Linked DNA regions of Homo sapiens: all the other regions are linked to region 1. Evidence: promoter capture Hi-C in 16 types of primary human blood cells and fetal thymus (Javierre and others, 2016). All regions are on one chromosome and are shown on one strand. Each heading gives the region's core, a stretch centred on a gene start or on the middle of the fragment in contact. The rest is flanking DNA. Distances are from core to core; before and after follow the strand shown.

Evidence for each region. The method cuts DNA at HindIII sites, captures the fragments that hold promoters and counts their contacts. A CHiCAGO score of 5 or more calls a contact.
Region 2: a fragment that was not itself captured here is called in contact with the fragment with the promoter of LTN1 in region 1 in 1 of 17 cell types (non-activated CD4 T cells); the score reaches 5.2 in non-activated CD4 T cells.
Region 3: a fragment that was not itself captured here is called in contact with the fragment with the promoter of LTN1 in region 1 in 1 of 17 cell types (neutrophils); the score reaches 6.2 in neutrophils.

The regions. Positions count from the first base shown.
Region 1 is chr21:28,990,724-28,995,161 of GRCh38, forward strand. It overlaps LTN1 (listerin E3 ubiquitin protein ligase 1), which reads right to left and starts at 2,154. Exons shown (of 30, transcript NM_015565.3): 1 at 2,041-2,154. The coding sequence starts at 2,082. LOC105372766 (a long non-coding RNA gene) reads left to right here and starts at 2,380. Exons shown (of 3, transcript XR_007067835.1): 1 at 2,380-2,408; 2 at 2,847-2,958; 3 at 3,059-3,458. RefSeq lists enhancers at 1,959-2,068, 2,379-2,438. The HindIII fragment of the contact is 7,723 bases long and covers 1-3,308 here.
Region 2 is chr21:28,827,407-28,831,844 of GRCh38, forward strand. It overlaps a transcript of HEMK2 not described here. Among named protein-coding and RNA genes, the nearest start is that of HEMK2, 56 kb to the right of the region's middle. The HindIII fragment of the contact is 4,724 bases long and covers 1-4,438 here.
Region 3 is chr21:29,129,563-29,134,000 of GRCh38, forward strand. MAP3K7CL (MAP3K7 C-terminal like) reads left to right here and starts at 1,082. Exons shown (of 5, transcript NM_001286620.2): 1 at 1,082-1,361; 2 at 3,744-3,852. The coding sequence starts at 3,783. RefSeq lists an enhancer at 4,179-4,438. The HindIII fragment of the contact is 6,543 bases long and covers 1-4,438 here.

The sequences.
Region 1 (4,438 bases), core at 904-3,403:
TGTTTAGCCTGAATCTAATCATAAGGAAAAAACTAGATGAATCTGAATTAATCAAACAAATGGCCCAGGCTCTTCCAAATTTTGTTAAAAAAGACACTCCTCTCCCCGCTTAAACAGTACTGAGAAACTGTCTAGATCAAAGAAACCCAAATGGTAACTAAATGGAATGAGTGATCCTTGACTGAATCTCAGATGTTAAAACGGTTTATCTTTTTAAAAAAGTCCCAGCCTGGGCAACATGGCAAAACTCTGTCCCTACAAAAATAAGCTAGCCGTGATGGCCTGTACCTGTAGTCCTAGCTACTGGAAAGGCTAAGCTGGGAGGATCACTTGAACCCGAGAGGCGGAGATTGCAGTGAGCCAAGTTCACGCCTCTGCACTCCAGCCTGGGTAACAGAGCCAGACTCTGTCCCCGAAAAAAAAAAAAAAAAGATTAGCCAGGAGTCCTAGCTACTAAGGAGGCTGAGGTGGGAGGACTGACCGCTTGAGCCCAAGAGGTTGACACTGCAGTGGGCCATGATCATACCACCACACTCCAGGTTTGGAGACAGAGCGACCCTGTCTTACAAAAAAAAAAAAAAGAAAAAAGAGAACATTATTGGGATAACTACAGAAGTCTAAATACAAGGCTGTATCCTGGATTACAGTATTATACAAAAGTCAAAGTTTCTGCATACTATAACCATTATTATAATTGCTGCAGGCTAGAAAATGGCATTGTTTTTAGAAGATACATGCTGATGTATTTAGGAGTTAAGAGTCCCGACTTCTGCAACTAACTCTTATAAGTTCAGAAAAATACATAAATTAAGAGAGAGAAAGCAAATGCAACCAAGTATTAGCAATTGGTAAATGTAGGTAAAGAGTATATGGGATGTCGTTCTAATATTCTTGCAACTTTTCCTCATAAGAACTTTTCAAATATAAAACATTTGAGAAAATCTGTTAAATAAAAAACATTAAAAGATGCAAGTAAAGTGCTTAGCACAGTAACACAACAGGTTGCTATAATTGTTAATACTGTTATTATCTTCCAAAACAGATTAAGTGACAGATCTAAGAAAATGTGACATTGAAATCACTAGAATTAACTACATCAGAAACAGGAAAAAAAAGCATTCTCATAAAATTGGACTGTGCTATAATAAATCTAACACCATAAAAAAATACCATTACAAAACCCCTCATCGTGTAGTTTTACACGAATCCACTTTAAGGTCGTCCTTAAGCAAGTACTTAGTGAGCGTCTATTAGGTGCCAGTCTGTTCTAGGTTCCGAGGATAAAAACATTTGCTTTCAAAATACTTACGTCCTAGTGAACCAAGACAATAAATGTCATAAATACAATGGAGTAAAATAAAGTAGGAAGAACATGGGAGTGGGGAAGGGCTACCAAGAGGGTGATCATGGGAGACCTCACTGAGGTGTCGAGAGCAAAGTTTGGAGCCACCTAACTGAAGAGCGTTGGGAGCCGGCCAGGTAGTCAAGGCACAGTGAAGAGATCAGTGTGGCTGGATGAAGTAAGCCAAGAGGAGGGAGCTGAAGATGGGACTGCAGATGGAAAGGGGTAACAGGCAGTCCAGAAACCAAATATACCATCCTAAGAGCTTTAGCTTAGGAGAAGCCACTGTAGGTAGCAAAGGAGAGGCACAATCTGCGGTAACCTCCACAGTGGATTCACTTTAACATTCTCCCAACTCTCCTTCTTCCCAGCGCCGCCCTCCCCCAACCAACCCGCTACCTCGGCCAGATCACCTTCCAGTGAACCTGACACATTATCATTTCTTCATGAATATTATGGGTGTGTGCTCGGATGAGGACAGCTCTGGCATGGTACATCTTTTCTCTCACGATTCCCCAATCTGCTCAGAGATAACACAAACCGCTCTCAGGGACGCACACACAACAGAGAGGTCACACTCGACAGGGAAACACACGCCTCCCTACAGCCGCGCTCCACACACCCTCCAGCAACGCGCTGGGCGGAGCCAGCCGCCTCGAAGCGAGGCTCCCGGGTCGGCCGAGCCAGCCCCCGCTCACCCTCAGGTTCCCTTTAGTTCGCTGCTTGTTCTTCCCGCCCATGGTCGCGGTTGCAGCTGTACTCTGAGCACTCAGACCCCGGTTGACACGTCCGGGACACAACTTCCGGCTTCTGGCGGCGGAAGAGGACACCCTGTAATAACTTCCCCCGGGCCCTTTTCCGCCACCCACCCTGTCCATTTGCTGCCCCACTTCCGCTCCCGCCTCCCGCTGTGTCCCTGACCATCCGCCACCGGAGACGTCACAGCTAAAGCCACGCCTGTCTGAGTGATGTCATTCCTGGCCAATAGGAAGCCAAGCATTGGACCCGTGGCGCCAAATCCTGTCCTCCCCGCTTTCAGAAGCTAGGTTTGTTCCTTGCTTAGAGGGTAGGAAACTGGCGTGAATCATCAGAGGGGCAGTTTCACATAAGGGTAGCATTAGAATGTTATGGTAGAGGCTGTGGGAAGATGGGAGTGTTTTAGACTTCCAACATGATGCAATCATCAGTATCACCTGGGCGTTTTTTAGAAAAGGCCAACTCGGGCCCCTCAGAACTCCTGAATCAGATCCTGCATTTTGACAGTATTCCCAAGTCTTGTTAAAATTTGATTACTGCTGTAGGCACTATTCTCTCTAAATCTCCCCTCCCCGTCCCCTTTTATTCATATTGAAACTGTTAACGTGCAGTTTAGGAAAGAGGATAATGTGGGAGTCCCTATTAAAATTTGAAATGTACAAATCCTGTAACCCATTGATTGTGCGACTCAGAATCACACCAGAGAAACAAGTAAATGTGTGCTGGTTATTGTTTCTTGTCCACGCAGTCACCCTTTTATACTCAACTCCATGTTACTGGGGGGGCTTCTGCTAGATTCCACCAACAGGACGAACAAGAGGGAAACAAAGGCAAGAGGAAGAAGGGACTTGCTCCATTCTGTAAGCATCATGCCAGCAGCAGCTGCATTTTACCGTGGCAGGAGCAATTGCTTTAGCCAAAAGGTGGTTTTAATCTCTATCCTTTTTCCAACAATCACAGAATCAGCCTTATTGCACCCCTCAGAGATCACAGCAGCAGTCAGTGCTCTCCTCAGAGATCTGAATTCTACTTTCATGCGGCCCCTCCCCTGAGCTCCTGAGATAGCCAATGTTTGAGCCACCTCCTCAGAAGTTTGAGCCTCAACACCGTGGGATCCCTTCTTTGTGCTCCAGAGATCCAGTAACAGCCAGCCATCACCCTCTCTTCATTCTTCATAGGCCTGAACTAAGGTGTTCAGGGCCCTCCTTCAAGCTTTTAGGTTCTGATGACTCCAACCACTTCTTTTGTTCCATCCTTTCCTAGCTCTAGGAATGGTAGCTGCTACCTGCAGTGATTACCTGTTACCTTTTATAATTCCTTTTGACCAATTTCCCATATTAAAATATTTCTCAATAACTAATGTGATTTCTGTTTTCCTGACTGGACCCTGATTTTAAAATGCACACAAAAGCCAGGTGCAGTGGCTTATGCCTGTAATCCCACCACTGTGGGAGGCCGAGGCAGGTGGATCACCTGAAGTCAGGAGTTCGAGACCAGCCTGGCCAACATGGCAAAAACCCATCGCTACTAAAAATACGAAAATTAGCTGGGCAGTGGTGGCAGGTGCCTGCAATCCCAGCTACTTGGAAGGCTGAGGCACGAGAATCTCTTGAACCCGGGAGGCGAAGGTTGCAGTAAGCCAAGATCATGCCACTGCACTCCAGCCTGGGTGACAGAGCAGACTGTCTCAGAAAAAAGTCACACAAAGAGACATATTACAGGAGGTTCACAAAAACTTTATAATAGAAAGATAATTGTAAGCAACCTATGTCTATATATTGGAGAACTGCTAAATAAATTATATGTATTCAATAAGCTATTAGGCAACATTTAAGAAGAATAAGGTTTATCTGAACACACATAGGAAGAATTCTAAGACACATTCTTAAATAAAAAGCAAATACCAATATATACAGTATGATACCATTTGTGTTTTTAAAACCCACAACACAATAATATATATATATATATATTTATGCATATATATATAATATAAATACAGAGAATAGGCCGGGTGCGGTGGCTCACGCCTGTAATCCCAACACTTGGGGAGGCCGAGGTGGGTGGATTGCTTGAGGTCAGGAGTTTGAGACAAGCCTGACCAACATGGTGAAACGCCGTTGCTACTAAAATACAAAAATTAGCTGGGCATGGTGGCAGGCAGCCGTAATCCCAGCTACTAGGGAGGCTGAGGCAGGAGAATTGCTTGAACCCAGGAGGTGGAGGTTGCAGTGAGCCAAGATCGCGCCTCTGCACTTCAGCCTGGGTGACAAAGTGAGACTCCGTCTCAAAAAAAAATAATAATAAAATAAAGATCTGCAAGAATACATACCAGTCTGA
Region 2 (4,438 bases), core at 1,064-3,563, 160 kb before region 1:
GAGAGATCAGAGTCTCATCAAATGTTATTGTGATTCTAAGACTGTCAACAGCTACCATTTAGTGATACCTACTATGTGCCAGGCACTACACTGAGTGTTTTGCACACATTACTCCACTCAATCCTCAGCCCTGCGTAACAAGCAGCATGCTCTCTCCACTTTAGAAATCAAGGGGAAATGAATCACAGTGGGATTAACTAGTTTACCCTCAGTCTGTCAATGATGGGGCAAGAAGTGAACACAGACAGTCCACTTCATGTTCAAGATCTTAACCACTATGTTGAAATCACTTATGTAGTGAACTATTAGAATGTCTATATTGATTATTTGTATTCTACTGTTATAATTGCATGCATCTAGTTTTTGCTTTGATGAGTTCTTACAAGAAATTGCATGCTGCTTTTAATACTTCCTTATTTGAGTTGATAATTTGCAACCATTTTATTTGAACCTATCTCTGTGGGACTTAACCACAACAGCTGCAATTTATTGAAAACTTGCTCTGAGCCAGTATATATCATCTCTGTCAATTCCCATAGTTCTCTGAGGGGTATGTATGTAGGTATGTGCATATACTTATATTCTTATATATGTATATGTAATGTAGAGTATCAGGTAACTTACCCCTTGTAGCTTAGGCTACAAGTCCTCCACTAGCATAGGCTTTTCTAAGGTTCCAGAAAGGGTTCTTAGAAACATGTTTGCATGTTCATACATTTTCTTATCTATTTTTGAAAGAGTATTTCGAAACTGATATAAGCGTAAGACCCACAAAGCCTGCAGACTACAGGTGATGGAAACAGGATTTGTGTGCAGATGTGCCCAACTCCAAGGGTTTAAAACCCCGTGACACAGTAAGTAAGGAGGAAGGGGTGGAGCAGTGGGATTTAGATGCACATGTTGGGCTTATCATGAGAGATTTCAAGCTAAGGAAAGAGGGGAGTTGATTTGAGGGGCTTTTCTCCTCTAAAGTGACCTTGAAGCCCTCATTTTAATGCTTCATGTGCCAACAAGAAGTAGAGAATGTAGGTAACTCTAATACGAATGAGGCTCTAAGAACTACTAGGTGAACACTCATAATAGTGGCACCAGTTCCGAACAACACATTTGTAAATAAATTGAAGCAGCCTTCAGTTTTTTCTAAACTAAGAAGCTACTAGACACTAAGCAGGTCAAACAGACCAAAGGCACTTTGGTGACACTTAGCTTAGGTAGCCCTTCGACTGCCAATCCATCATTATCTGAAAGTTCTGCATTGACCAACTGCTGTCAGAAAATGTTCCCTTTCTTCCAGAAATTCCATGCCAGCTCACCTTCCAAAAGTTTCCAGTGGGCTTGTTGATCTTTCACCCAAATAGCCACCTAACACTTTACGAATATCCATCTCTGTGAAGAAACCGACTCAGCTGCAACAACCTGTTTTTTTTAATTCATTAAGCCTTAGAATAGCATCTTTCTTAGTAAAATATAAATGCAATATTTAATAAAACTATATATACAGTGATTATTATAAGCAGGGAGAGGACAGGCTGAAAATGAGTGATTTTAACAAGAGCTTTAACAATTTTTAATAGACCTGCATTCCTTTACATTCCTGGTGTTTCTCAAACTTTAGTGGGTTTAAAGTTCATCTGGGGATTTATAAAAATTGCTGACTTCAAGAGCTCCTCTTAAAATTTCTAATTCTGAAGGCCTGGAGGGATCCTCAACAATCTTCATTTTTAACGATTTTGATGAAGATGGACTGCAGCTGTCTCTTGAGAAATGCTTCTTTAGAACAAGTGAAATTGCTAATTACACAGTAAGCACTTAGTCATCTACCATTACCCAAGTCTTGTTAGTTGTGAGTTGCCCCTTGGTATCTGCTAAGGTTTGAATGTGTCCCTCAGAAAGCATATGTTGGAAACTTAACCTTTAATGCAACAGTGTTTGTTGGGAGGTAGGTTCCAATGAGAGGTAATTAGAACATGAGGGCTCTGCATTTATGAATAGATGAATGTGTGGAAGTAGGTTCCTTATAAAATAAGGTCAGTCACCTTTCCTCTCTCCCATCCTCTTTTTGCCCTCTGACATCCTATGCCTTTCACCATGAGATGACACAGCAAGAAGGTCCCTGATAGATACCAGTGCTTCAATCTTGGACTTCCCAACTAAAGAACTATGAACCAATAAATTTCTGTTCATTACAAATTATCCAGTCTCAGGTATTCTGTTACAGCTGCACAAAACAGACTAAGGCAGTATCCCATTCTCAGCTGCAGCAATTCTTTTTAAGACAAAACTCCATGGATTTTAAGACATCTGAGTAGGGAGAGTTAATTATGTCCTCTCAAAGAGGTATTTTCCCTAGACCAATTAGTTTACAAGAACATACACTCTGTTTCTAAAACTTTGGAAAACAAAGATGTGGTTCATATCAGAGTGAAAATTTCATTGATACCCATTATAATGAACGTGTTTCATTTTGGCAAACTGTCATGAAATGTCCTGTTCATTTGGAGAAAATTCCTGGAAAGATGGTAGGCAGAGGTCCCAACTCCCAATACGGAATCCTAAGAGGGAGAAGATCTGTCTGCTCCCAGTCAGAGAAGGGTGGGCTCTTCCTACACTAAGATCTTAGCCACATTTTGTCTCCCTGAATTCTTGCCAGAGACTAGTCCTCCAGGCTGAGAGTATATCTTATATCTGTATAATTAGATAACAATTATGTTATCTAAAACTGAGAACCCTGGGTATGGTACATCCAGACACTTACGGCAGAAAATATTTGATATGGTTTGGCTCTGTGTCCCCACTCAAATCTCATGTCAAACTGTAATTCCCAATGTTGGGGGAGGGATCTGGTGGGAGGTAATTGGATCATGGGGGCAGATTTCTCCCTTGCTCTTGCGATAGTAAGTTCTCACGAGATCTGATAAATGTTTAAAGGTGTGTGGCACTTCCCCCCCTTCACTCTCTCTCTCTTTCTACCATGGTGAGACGTGCTTGCTTCCCCTTCACCTTCTGCCATGACGGTAAGTTTCCTGAGACCTTCCAGCCATGCTTCCTGTACAGCCTATGGAACTGTGAGTCAATTAAACCTCTTTCTTCATAAATTATCCAGGTCAGGTAGTTCTTTATAGCAGTGTGAGAACAGACTCTACAATATCTTCAAAATGTTGTTTATTTTTTAAAAAAATGTATGGATGGAGGCCAGGCGCGTGGCTCACGCCTGTAATCCCAGCACTTTGGGAGACCAAGGTGGGCAGATCATGAGGTCAAGAGATCAAGACCATTCTGGCTAACATGGTGAAACACTGTCTCTACTAAAAATACAAAAAATTAGCCGGGCATGGTGGCAGGCGCATGCAATCCCAGCTACTTGGGAGGCTGAGGCAGGAGAATCGCTTGAACCCAGGAGGAGGAAGTTGCAGTGAGCCAAGTTCGTGCCACTGCACTCCAGCCTGGGTGACAGAGCAAGACTCCATCTTTAAAAAAAAAAAAAAAAAAGAATGGTATCAGAAAGAATAGAAGGTGAAAGGAAGAAAGGAAATGGAAAATTAGTATTCTATCCATCTGTAGAAAATTTTTTAAAATATGTATTGTCTTTTATTCTGATTTCTTCTGGATTCCACTTTGTAGATTTATGAGCCCAGGACCACTGGTATTCAGTAAAGGAGTAGAAATCAATTTGTAGGGGCAGGAGGGATGCCATGTGTCATAGCTACGCAAACAGAAGAAACTTAGTGATTAAAACTCACAAAAAAGAACAGTATTAGCTGGGAGCTATGGCTCATGCTTATAATCCCAGCACTTTGGGAGGCCGAGGTGGGTGGATCACTTGAGGTCAGCAGTTCAAGACCAGCCTGGCCAAGATGGCGAAACCCCCGTCTCTACTAAAAATACAAAAATTAGCTGGGCGTGGTAGCGGGCGCCTGTAATCCCAGCTACTCAGGAGGCTGAGGCAGGAGAATCACTTGAACCTGGGAGGCAGAGTTGCAGGGAGCCAAGAACATGCCACTGTACTCCAGCCTGGGTGACAGAGCGAGACTCTATCTCAAAAAGAAAGAAAAGAACGAAAGAAAGAAAGAAAGAAAGAAAGAAAGAAAGAAAGAAAGAAAGAAAGAAAGAAAGAAAGAAGGAAAGAAGGAAAGAAGGAAAGAAGGAAAGAAGGAAAGAAGGAAAGAAAGAAAGAAGGAAAGAAGGAAAGAAGGAAAGAAGGAAAGAAGGAAAGAAGGAAAGAAGGAAGGAAAGAAAGAAAGAAAGAAAGAAAGAAAGAAAGAAAGAAAGAAAGAAAGAAGGAAGGAAGGAAGGAAGGAAGGAAGGAAGGAAGGAAGGAAGGAAGGAAGGAAAGAAAGAAAGAAAGAAAGAAAGAAAGAAAGAAAGAAACAGTATCACCTTTCAAACAGTGATGGGTCCCTAATACCTATATGCTGAGTATTGTCACACTCATGTTCCA
Region 3 (4,438 bases), core at 1,385-3,884, 140 kb after region 1:
AGGATTTATTTACCTATTGAAGAACTTGGTTGCTTCCAAATTTTGGCAATTATGCATAAACCTGCTATAAACATCTGTATGCAGGCTTTTGGGGAAATAACAAGAAGTGTGATTTCTGGGTCATGTGGTAAAAGTATGTTTGCTTTTGTAAGAAACTGCCCAACTGTTTACTAAAGTGGGATATACTATTATGTTTTCATTCCCACCAGCACGGAATGAAAGTTCCTGTTGCTCCACAGCCTCACCAACATTTGATGTTGTCAGTATTTTGAATTTGGGTTATTCCAATAGGTGTATAGTGGTATTTCATTGTTGTCTTAGTTTGCAATTCCCTAATGACATATGATGTTGATCATCTTTTCATATGCTTACTTGCCATCTGTATATTTTCTGTAGTGAGATATCTTTCAGATCTTTTGCCTATTTTTTGATTGGGTTGTTTGTTTTTCTGTTGTTGAATTTTAAGAGTTCATTGTATATTTTGGATGCCAGTCCATCATCTGATATGTATTTTGCATATTTTCTTTCAGTCTGTGGCTTGTGTTTGCCTTCTCCTAATATTTATTTTGCTTATTTAACCTCAAAAATCACAATCCAATTATTTTTTAAGTACCAATGACATCCAGGTTTACAGTTTTTAAAAAGGTTGACAAATCCTAATGCTGTATTCTTATTTACCATTGACTCCTTTTGTGGTTGGTTGCATTTGAAGAATGAATCGAGTCATCAAGCCCAACATGGGCTCAACCTCAAACCTCACATTCTTAACCAGGATCCTCGCTGCTATCATCTGAGAGTCAGCCTGTGGCCTGTCCAAGTTGGCTGGGTCTGGCTGAGCTGATTGGAGCGGCCGACATTTTTGCTGACTGGAGTCATGCTATCTTTGCCAGTTTGCTGGAATAGACACAGACACCGATTGGGTCACGCTGAAGACATTCCTGTCTTGTGAAGCAAGTCTGTTTGTATTTTAAGTTTGCCAGGACTAATGAATTAAAACATTTGGACTCCCCACAACTTGCTGTTTATCAATGCCTCTGACAGGAGGAGGGTTTTCTTTTGCTCTTGCTTTTTCTAGAAAGATGACAACATCCTGGCTGTTAGAGAGGCAAGGAAAGGAGAGAGGGGTTGTGAAGGGAAGCGGAAGGGAAGGGAAGGGAGGTCCCGTGGGACGCTGGGGTCTGGGGCAGAGCAGGTAGCAGCGTGCTGCCCTGACAGCTGTCTCCGCTCCTCAGATTGTCAGTGGCTGCTATGCAGCAGGTGCAGCCTGGTCTCTCACTGAGTCTCTACTCCACAAAGGCAACGACTGGCCAAGGCAGTGGCTGGCTCTGGGTTACACAAGTGCAGACACTCAACTAAGTGAGGTAAGCCAACAGGTGTGAAAACTGAACTAAATGCTCAGATCAGCAGCAACTTAACCAAAGCTCTGTTACAGCCTGTAGCCAAGAGAAGGAACCTGTGGTTCGTTTCCCCAGACGGTGTGATGAAAAGGCAAGTTGGTGTAGGGGCATTTGTGGTCAACATGGTGTGGAACTCAAAGTCCACTCAGTCTTGCCACCATCCTTTCATAGGCAGACAGATGTTCTCCATTGAGCGGAGGGGAGGGACTCTAATTAGCTGTGTTTATTAATTCCATTTCCTGTAGCTGGAAACCATACCAGAGGACTATTTACAAAATCCTTGAGGCAAATTTCTACCTCTTGTACTTGATTTCTTGGTGCGGGAAAGTGTTGGGGGATTTAGCCAAAAGAGGAGTGCAACTTTCCATCCTTAGATGTTATGCTAAAGTGATTCGGTGATTGTACAATGCATAACAGTAAAACTTTTCTTTTTAGCTAAAATGTTAAGGGAATTTTAATGGTTTCTTCTGTTGAATTTGAGACAATCCATGCCATTCCCTAGGTGGCTAACAAAATGCTTGATTCTGAGCAGGTAAGACTGGACAGAAGGGTGGCAGAGTTAAGATAAAACAAATCCTGAATCAAATAACAGATATTTTATATTACTCTTTTTTAAAATTAAATGTTTCATGTCACTATTTCTTTCTAACTTAGAATTACATGATATGGACAGTGGAGAGCTTTTTGGTGCATTGCTACTTGTAGTGCTAAATAAATGGGCCAAATTATGATTCTAACTGGATAATAAACAGTTGCTGGTTTTTCTCCAAAGCTATACTAGGGTTTTAATATAAGCCTGATCTTTTTTCATATGCTGGGTAAGATGATTCCATATGTATGTATGTCTAAATATACATGTATATATATATGCATTGGCTTTGGCTCTATAAATACTTTTAAAAACAAAATTCAGTGTTCTGGACACTATTTTTAGATAGATAGAGGAAAGTTATGGGAAAAAGTCAGAAACCGTGCTGTGAGAAAATGTCCTGCTAAAGCATTTCCCAGAATCTCTTTAAGGATGGCTAAAGAGATTATTTATACTTTGCCATTTTTAGAGCTATTTCCCTTAAAATATCATTCAGGTTTTTTGGTTTACTGTCTACATGAGAAGGAAAGTAGAGGGTTTAGGGGAGGTGGGACTAAAAATAGAAAAGTTAAATATATGTTTTTAAATAAGAAAGATATCATGTATTTATAACTATCTTTTCCTAGTCCCCTATAGACATCAAATTATCAAATATCTTGGTTAAAATATATTTGGGCTAAGTTCTCTGATTATAACCAGAAATATTCATGTGTTTTTGCCCATTCCATTTTATCTGCAGGATGTTTTTTTTCCATTCATTCTACCTTAATTAATTAAATGATGATTTGATAGCTGGAGTAGAATATCTATAGGATGTTTTTGAGTCTTGTCTTTGCTTTTATAGAGTGTTAAGATGTGCATCCTTAGAAATGTTTGGTAGACTTACAGGTAGTTAATCAGATATTTAAAGCATATGATATTCATCATATAACAGATATTTTAAAGTGGTTTTTGGTATTCTTTATTTATTTATTTATTTTAGACAGAGTCTCACTCTGTCGCCCAGGCTGGAGTGCAGTGGTACGATCTCGGTTGACTGCAACCTCTGCCTCCCGGGTTCAAGCGATTTTCTTGCCTCAGCTTCCCAAGTAGCTGGGATTACAGGTGCCTGCTAGCATGCCCCACTAATTTTTGAATTTTTGATAGAGATGGGGTTTTCTCATGTTGGTCAAGCTGGTCTCGAACTTCTGACCTCAGGGGATCTGCCTGCCTCGGCCTCCCAAAGTGTTGGGGTTACAGGCATGAGCCACCACACCCAGCGACTTTTGGTATTCTTTAAATGATTCCATGAAACCCATTCTTTGCCACTCTCAGATTAATAATTCAGATTTAATTTAGGCTTTTGAACATGAAAAGCAAGTCTAATCTGAAGCCATCTGATACCTTATTAAGACTATATCTCTTTTTATCCTCCTCAGTTGAAAGTAAAATACTTTATATGACCTTAAAGAGGCAGGATTGAACTGGTCCGTGTAAAAAGATATTGAGCAAGTAAGGCAGGTAGAGATATTTCCCATATTTCATTCATTCTAGATGTATATTGCAAAAGCAATTTTTTCTTGAGCCAAGAAAAAAAGATTTAAATGGGGCGGATGAATACTTTTGACATAGAAAAAGCTCAAAACTAGGAGTATCTTTAGAATAAGCAGGTAATGCTTACTAACCTTAATAACTTCACCTGTAATTTCCAAGGGCCTCTGAGTATTTAGGGGGATGATGCTGGATAAAGTGACAATGGCTCTCTCTTGCTGTCACAGCTGGAAGACCCAGGAGAAGGCGGAGGCTCAGGTGCCCACATGATCAGCACAGCCAGGGTACCTGCTGACAAGCCTGTACGCATCGCCTTTAGCCTCAATGACGCCTCAGGTATACTCTGCTCTGGAAGAAGGATTGTTTCCTTCATACCCCACCTTTCTAGCATCTTTTCTAATGCCACGCCTCTGTGGAAAATTTAAAGTTGCATGCTTGCATGACCTGATGATGGGGAATGTGATATTTCATCATGCATTGTTAGATGGCGGCTTCCAGAAATGCCTCTAGTGATGCTTTCCTCCACCTTGAGTTTTCGGGTCATTTAAACTCATTTTTTTTCTCCTCCCTCCCCATTCTAGCTTTCTTTTAGAATAAAATTCACTGAGCTACAACAATTTCTAACAATAGCAAAGTGTGTTATTGTTAAAACTGCATGAGGAAACTTTTATTAGGAGCTGGCAGTTGGTTAGGTAATATGAAAATATCACTGTTCCGTTTACAGCAACATTTGCTGAAGCGTAAGTTAGAAATGCTGGTTTCTCACTGGTGCTCCCACACTTCTGGCTAAATCAACAGACTTCAGCAGGAATGATAAATGGGACAGGTGAGGAGGAGCCTCTCTAAATAGTAAGGTCTGAGGTGAAACTGCCATACTTAGAGCCCTTCGTCATGGCTCCCCTCAGTGACCTCTTAACACACA